Linked DNA regions of Homo sapiens: region 2 is linked to region 1. The links are contacts of gene promoters, found by promoter capture Hi-C in human tissues and cell types (Jung and others, 2019). All regions are on one chromosome and are shown on one strand. Each heading gives the region's core, a stretch centred on a gene start or on the middle of the fragment in contact. The rest is flanking DNA. Distances are from core to core; before and after follow the strand shown. Region 1 holds the start of C10orf67 (chromosome 10 open reading frame 67). Region 2 overlaps C10orf67 (chromosome 10 open reading frame 67).

Region 1 (3,487 bases), core at 438-2,937:
AACTTACTTGCCCAAAATTCTAAATCGAGTAAGTTTCAAAGCCTGTATATATTTAATATTTACTGCAGAGTTCATGAGCTTTCCACTAAAGCCATCAATGAATTTAGCATGTGATAAAAGAGGCCTGGATTTAATATGACAAATGTTTTGACCACATCAACGCCAGTTACTACAGGTGAGAATCTGATCTGAAATAAACAATTTTATAAGCCGGAACACCTGTGAGATAAAATACAGGTAACTGACAAGAAGAGAAGTATTATGTAGTTAACGGTTTCAAAAACAATCATCATCATAGCGTGGTCTCTTAGACACTGAAATCTGAAACTCCTTGATATGCTATAGCAAGGTTTCAAACAAAGATGTTCTGTTCAATGCATGTTTTTGTGGGATGGCGTAACTATGCAGACTATATCAGTCAACAAATGCTGTACAGAGCTGACCAATGACTCATGAAATCTTCTGTGCGATCTCTCTCCTCAGTTTCAAACGATTCATTTATAATTGCACTAGGAAAATAGCCAACAGCTTGTCACATTCTTTACACTGTCTTGGCCCAGCTCTAAACAGATAGGTTTTGAAATTTTAACTTAAAATTTTAATCTTTATTTTAAAACATGTATATACATTGTGGTAAAATATCACTTAGGAAAAAGAAAAGTTATTGTAGATATATAAATTTCTTTCTTTTAAAATACCTTTTGATTATATAATAAAAATTCCCCAAATAAAGTCTGAAGTTAGAGTTTGTAATTAAAAACCTCCAAAGAGTAAAAGTAACTCTTTTTCTCTTCTCTCTTCATCTCCCCCCCAAAAAATAAGCCTTCACAGAAGATGATTTTGGCATTGGTTATGATGTTTTATTGGCATTTGGGGCTTTTAATCTTTGTCTTTAAACATAATAGTAGTGATAATGCTACAGTGCTTTTCTTTTCCTGTTTTGAGCTTCTAAATCCAGCTAAGTTATTTTCACTTACTGTTACAAGACAGAGAAGAGGCCGGGCTCTGTGGCTCACGCCTGTTATCTAGCACTTTGGGAGGCCGAGGGGGGCAGATTGCCTGAGCTCAGGAGTTAGACTAGCCTGCACAACGCGGTGAAACCCCGTCTCTACTAAAAATACAAAAAATTAGCCTGGCTTGGTGCTGTGTGCCTGTAGTCCCAGCTGCTCGGGAGGCTGAAGCAGGAGAATTGCTTGAACCCGGGAGGCGGAGGTTGCAGTGAGCCCAGATCGCGCCACTGCACCCCAGCCTGGGCGACAGAGCGAGACTCCGGCTCCAAAAAATAATAATAATAATAATAAGAGAGAGGAGAAAAAACTTATTTTTCTGTAGATAATATATTGAAATGCAGATGTAGTATAGACAGTTCTAAACCAGACAATGACATTTTAAAAATAAATTTAGCCAGTCGTTTACAGAAAAACAATGACATACTGATATTAGAATAGGTGTCTCCTATTAGTTGACAATGAGTGATACATAATTTAAAACTAAGGATGACAACAGTTTCACTATTAACTCTTATTATTGTAGAAACCTGGTAAAATTGAATTCCACACTAGATGGTATAGTTTAAGACTTAACGCCTCACATTCTGACCTCATTAAATAGAAATCTGTTTAATCTCTGCAAGGAAATATTTTGTCCAGGAACGCCTACGTTTGTGGCAGGTGGAGACAGCTTATTAGGCAGCCTGCTCTCCTCTTATGATGGCCTTGGTCCGGGATCGCAGGGCTCATTATGTCATGAGCATAGTTATTAGATGGGTTCACTGCTTTTCCTCCTCCTTGAGGGGGACCTTTGGCACACGCTGGGAGGCCATGAAAGCCAAGGCCACCGAGCTGCGGGTCTGCTGCGCGCGTAGGAAGCGAGAAGCTCGGGAATTCAAGCCCCCGCAAATGCGCGGGTCCACGAGGTAGGCTGAGCTCCGCGCCTGGGTAGAGGAGGAAGCGAGCAGGGTCCAGGGGCACGGCGGGAGGCTGAAGGGTTATTTACGGGGGTGCAGCTTTCCTCTGGGGTATCGCAGCAGCCTCCAGGCTGTGGGAGTCTTGTGGGGAAGCCTTGAGGCAGGCGGGACAGTGAAAGCGCAGCGGGGTGGCTTGGGAGCCCGCCCCGCCTCCTCCTCCCCCTCTCCACTCCCCTCCTCCCGCGCGTGCTCCCTCCCCATCCTCCTTTCCATCTCTTCCCCCTTCCCCCACTCCTTCCCCCTCTTCCTTCCCTCCACACCTCCTCTACTTCCTTTCCCTCTCCCCTTCCCCCCCATCCCCAACCTTCTCCCTATCCCCCTCCTCCCCATCTCCTTCCCCCTTCCCCTCCCCACCCCGTTCCCCACCCCCCTCCACTCGCGGCCCTCCCCGGCCCCCGCCCACGGATTCCCGCGCTTCGCCGGTTACCTGGGAGTCGCCATGGCAACGGACGCCGGGTTCCCGACTCCGACTCAGGAGAGCGAGCGGCTCCGCGGGAGGCGCACGTCCGGGGCTGCAATGGCGAACTGGGGCGACTCGCCTGAGACAGAGGAGGGCCGGAAGATCATGGAGGGCCTCGAGGCCTCTATTGAACAATTCCAGTTCAACCCCAGGTGACCAGCGGGAGAGGCAGTCCCCGCCGGCCCGCCCCGGAGCCCTCGCGCCCCGGCCCTCGCTCAACGCCTTTCCAGGCCCCTTGCTCCAGCCGCTGGGCTTCAGTTTTTTGTTTGTTTTTCGAGGGGATCACTGTCCGAAAAGAGCTGCAGTTTTCACTTCTTCAAGTGTATAGCTGGACACTAAGAGCACGGACTCTGGAGCCAGACTGCCCGGATTCCAGAATCTTGGCGACCCTCTCACAGGGGCCGTGAGTTAGGCGACTGACTGCTCTGTGCCTCAGTTTTCTCAGCGGGAAATAATCGTTCATGAATGATGAAGAGTAGTGCCTGCTTCATAGATCATAGTGAATATTAAATGAGCTAATCTAGGACACAGTACCCGTCTTAGTCCCCTCGGGCTGCTGTAACAAAACAACATAGGCTGGGTGGCTTATAAGCAACAGGAATTTGTTTCTCCCAGTTCTGGAGGCTGGGAAGCCCACTGGCAGATTCCAGGTCTGATGAGGGTCCCTTCTGCACAGACAGTACCTCCTGGCTGTGTCTCCACATGGTGCAACGGGCAAGGGAGTTTTCCCCCACGTCCCCCACACCCGCTCCCACCCTGCTTTTAGAAGGGCACTAATCCCATTTATAGGGCTCCACTTTCATGACCTAGTCACCTCCAAAGTCCACACCTGCTAATATCGTCATCTTGGGGGTTAGGATTTCAACATGAATTTTCAGGAGACACACTCAGACCATAGCAGAATCATAGAAGTGTTTGCCGATGTCATTATTTGCTATTCCTTGATCCTTGTTTAAAACCCGTCCCTTTCATAATCCTTTGCCCCCTGTGTTCTAGCTTTGTTGTTTATTTGGATAATGTAGAGCTGATGTTTCTGGGAAAATGCAAATTTCTTTCTAAAA
Region 2 (3,355 bases), core at 764-3,263, 41 kb after region 1:
TTTTCTTGATTTGTTCAACTGCATATCTGTGTTCTCTTGCGTCTCATTGAGCTTCTTAAAGATAATTATTTTGATTTACTTATCAAATGATTTGCAGATCTCCATTTTTTTGGAGTCAGTTACTGGAACTGTATTCATTTTCTTGAGAGTGTCATGTTTGCCTGATTCTTCACTAACTATATAGCCTTATGTTCGTGTTTGTGCATTTGGATGAGCAGACACTTCCTCCAGTCATTACAGACTGGTTTTGGTAGGTAAAGATTTTCTTCTTTTGGGTCCCTAAGCTGATAAGATTGCCTCCAGGATTGCAGTTGAGTAGGGTTGCAGCCGAGTTACGTGGCTGCTGCTGGGTCTGCAATGGGGACCATGTTAGTGGGCCTATTACTAGGGGCTTGAACAGGCTTGGATCCTGTCTGGCCCCTGGAAAGAATAAACTGCTTCCAGGACCTTAGTCTGTAGAGTTGGTGCTGGGTAAAGAAGATTCTTCAGGTTTCACAGTTGGGTTTGCAGATGGTGGGCCTGTTACCAGACACACAGATGAGTGTGTATTCCTTCAGGTCCCTTGTAGTGTTCCTGCTGGGTTACTGAGTTGGTACCTGGGCAAGGAGAAGTGGCCATGGACCATGGCTGACAGGAGCTTGAAGGGAATTACAGGGCTGCTTCATGGCTTACACTGAGACTGGGGTCTGCAGACATGCCTCCAGAGACATAGAAAGGTGTGCCTCCTGCCAGGCTCCTGGGCAAGCAGGACTGCTCCTGGACCATGGCTGAGTGGGCTCGAGCTGGGTCACGGGGCTACTTCAGGCTTCTCCATCAGACTGAGGTCAGCAGCTTGCCTCCAGAGGCATTGATGGGCATGTTTCCTGGCAGATCTCTGGGTGGACAGGACTGCTTCTGGATGAAGGCTAGGAAGGGACAGAACTAGGTTGCAGGCCCACCCCAAGATCTGCAGTGGAATCAAAATCAGTGGGCCTGCCTTTGGGGCACAGAAAGGCATAGCTTTCAGCAAGCCCCTGGGTGGGCAAGACTGCTCTCAGACTGCAGCTGAGAGGGCTGGGACCAAGTTAAAGGGCTGTTTCAAGATCTGCTGTGAGACTGAGGTCAGCCAACCTGCTTCTGAAGGCACAAATAGGCATGACTCCCAGCAGGTGCCTGGGCAGGCAGGACTGGTCTCAAACTGCAGCTGAAAGTGGGTTTGGTTGAGTTACAGAGCTGATTCAGGATCCACAGCTGAGACTGAGGCCTGTGGGCTTGTCACCAGAGGTACAGGTGAATGTGATTCCTCCTGGATTTCTTGGCAGATGGTTCTAGAGGCAGGACCAAGTCCACAGGGCAATGAAGCAATTTCTGGGTTTGTAGCTGGGACCATGGTCAGTGAGCCTGCCACCTAGGTGCAGCCTGCCAGTCAAAACAGCCCTCCTCAGTCTTGGGCTCCACTAGAGTTTTGCAGTCTTCTATCCAGGTCCCAAATCTCCCTCAAGGGAACTTTTGTCCACGGATGGCTGCCAAATTCTTGTTGAGTAGACGTTCTCCTAATCTTCCATCTCGCTCTTTACTATTGTAGTTTACATGGCTGATACAGTAAGAGTAACTGACCATGCTTTGTGTTTTATAGGATAACACTGTGCTACATAGTGCGTAATACTTTTTAAGCATATATTTCAATATAAATAAAGTTGCTTACTAAAATTGTATGCAGGTTACAAAAATAACCTTCACAAAACAGTAGCTTAAAAGATGAAATGTTTTCTGGTGGTGTCTAATTTTTAATGCTGAGTGTCTAATTTAGTGTAAGTGCCTAATTTTTAATGCTTAGTGTCTAATTTTTAATGCTGCTTTTTTTTGTCCCTAGCAATTCTTTGAGGTAGAAGAAGAGAATGTTTCTTTGCAAGATGCGAGTACTGTCAAAACAAATATTTTGTTAAGAAAACTGAAAGAGAAAGAAGAAGTTATTAAAGAATTAAAAGAAGAACTAGACCAATATAAAGATTTTGGATTTCACAAAATGGTAAGTTTCAAGGCAAGGAATAATTAATTTTAATATACATAAATAAAGTCATAAATAGTTAAAAGCTTGAGTTAATGATAAATTAAAATCCAATTGCTGCATTTTGGGCATCTCCCCATAATATAAGCCAGTCTAACTCTTTTCTGCTCAATGGCCTATTCTAGAAAACCCATAACAATATGAATAGGAGCAATATAATGAATAGGAGCAATAAAATTAAAAATACAATTTTTGTTTAAATGGAAATAAAATAACTTACCTCCCACTGCAAAAAATGTCCTACTCTAGAAGAGTGTGGGAGTGGATTTTTGTTGTAACCGAAGACTCCCACCTTTTTTTGCAGTCAAAGTAGTTTGAAAGACACAAAGCTAATCTTTCCAAGCCAGAGCTTCCAAGAAGCCAACTTGGAACAGAATGACATTTAAATAAAAATATCAAGAAGAAAAATCCCAGAGGATTTTCCCCTCAGTTTTTCCTGTTGCAGTGGGAGCCAGGAGCTGCTTTACTGGTTAGACAAACTACTGATGGGAGCAAAAATGGAATGACTGAGAAGGCAGAAAGAAGAACCTAAACTCCTGTCAAGGAGGAAGTTTAAGGGCTTTGGAAAATGTGGATCCTGAGAACGAATTCATTGTCATCTCATGTCTGCTCTGAGCCACCGGATGTCCCAGGCCCAACCATGGTCCAGAGCTGGAGAGGATTTTATTCTTAAGTTCTAAGAACAAGAAGCTGATTGTTTGATTTGGAAAGGCTAACAGATGCTGGGACCCAGGAGGAATAAAAGTCTATTGAATAGCAATAGCAGGTATCAGATACTTCATCGATGGCATCTCTTCTCATTCTCACAGTTCAGTTTGCAGATGAAGAGGCAGAGACAGGGTGGTTAAGTAACTTCCTCATGGGCAAACGTAGTAGATGGTAAAGATGGTACATGAACCAAGGTTCACCTGAATCTAAAGTCCACTTACAGAGGGGGAGCTTTATCCTCTACAGTAAGAATTAAAGGTTGTAGTGAATATATAATATACATATGCATATAGAAAATGTACAGATTATAATGTATAGATTATGTTATCATAATATATTATAATATGATATATTATAATACATTAATAATTATTAATAGATTAATACACATAGAGGGCTACCCTCTTTGGGTCCTCTCCCTTTGTATGGGAGCTCTGTTTCCACTCTATTTCACTCTATTAAATCTTGTAACTGCACTCTTCTGGTCCGTGTTTGTTACGGCTTGAGCTGAGCTTTCGCTCACCGTCCACCTCTGCTGTTTGCCGCCATCGCAGACCCACCGCTGACTTCCATCCCTCTGGATCCAGCAGGATGTCTGCT

The links. Contacts are between HindIII fragments. The study calls those that stand out against the background at their distance.
Region 2: a contact is called between a fragment that was not itself captured here and the fragment with the promoter of C10orf67 in region 1, in 1 of the 25 tissues and cell types used here (hippocampus).

The regions. Positions count from the first base shown.
Region 1 is chr10:23,342,997-23,346,483 of GRCh38, reverse strand. It overlaps C10orf67 (chromosome 10 open reading frame 67), which reads left to right and starts at 1,687. Exons shown (of 16, transcript NM_001371909.1): 1 at 1,687-1,915. The coding sequence starts at 1,710. It overlaps C10orf67-AS1 (C10orf67 antisense RNA 1), which reads right to left and starts at 2,527. Exons shown (of 2, transcript NR_155752.1): 1 at 2,394-2,527; 2 at 1,323-2,060. RefSeq lists a silencer at 270-564. The HindIII fragment of the contact is 15,239 bases long and covers 1-3,487 here.
Region 2 is chr10:23,301,957-23,305,311 of GRCh38, reverse strand. It overlaps C10orf67 (chromosome 10 open reading frame 67), which reads left to right. Exons shown (of 16, transcript NM_001371909.1): 5 at 1,853-2,008. Among named protein-coding and RNA genes, the nearest start is that of C10orf67-AS1, 40 kb to the left of the region's middle. The HindIII fragment of the contact is 4,926 bases long and covers 1-3,355 here.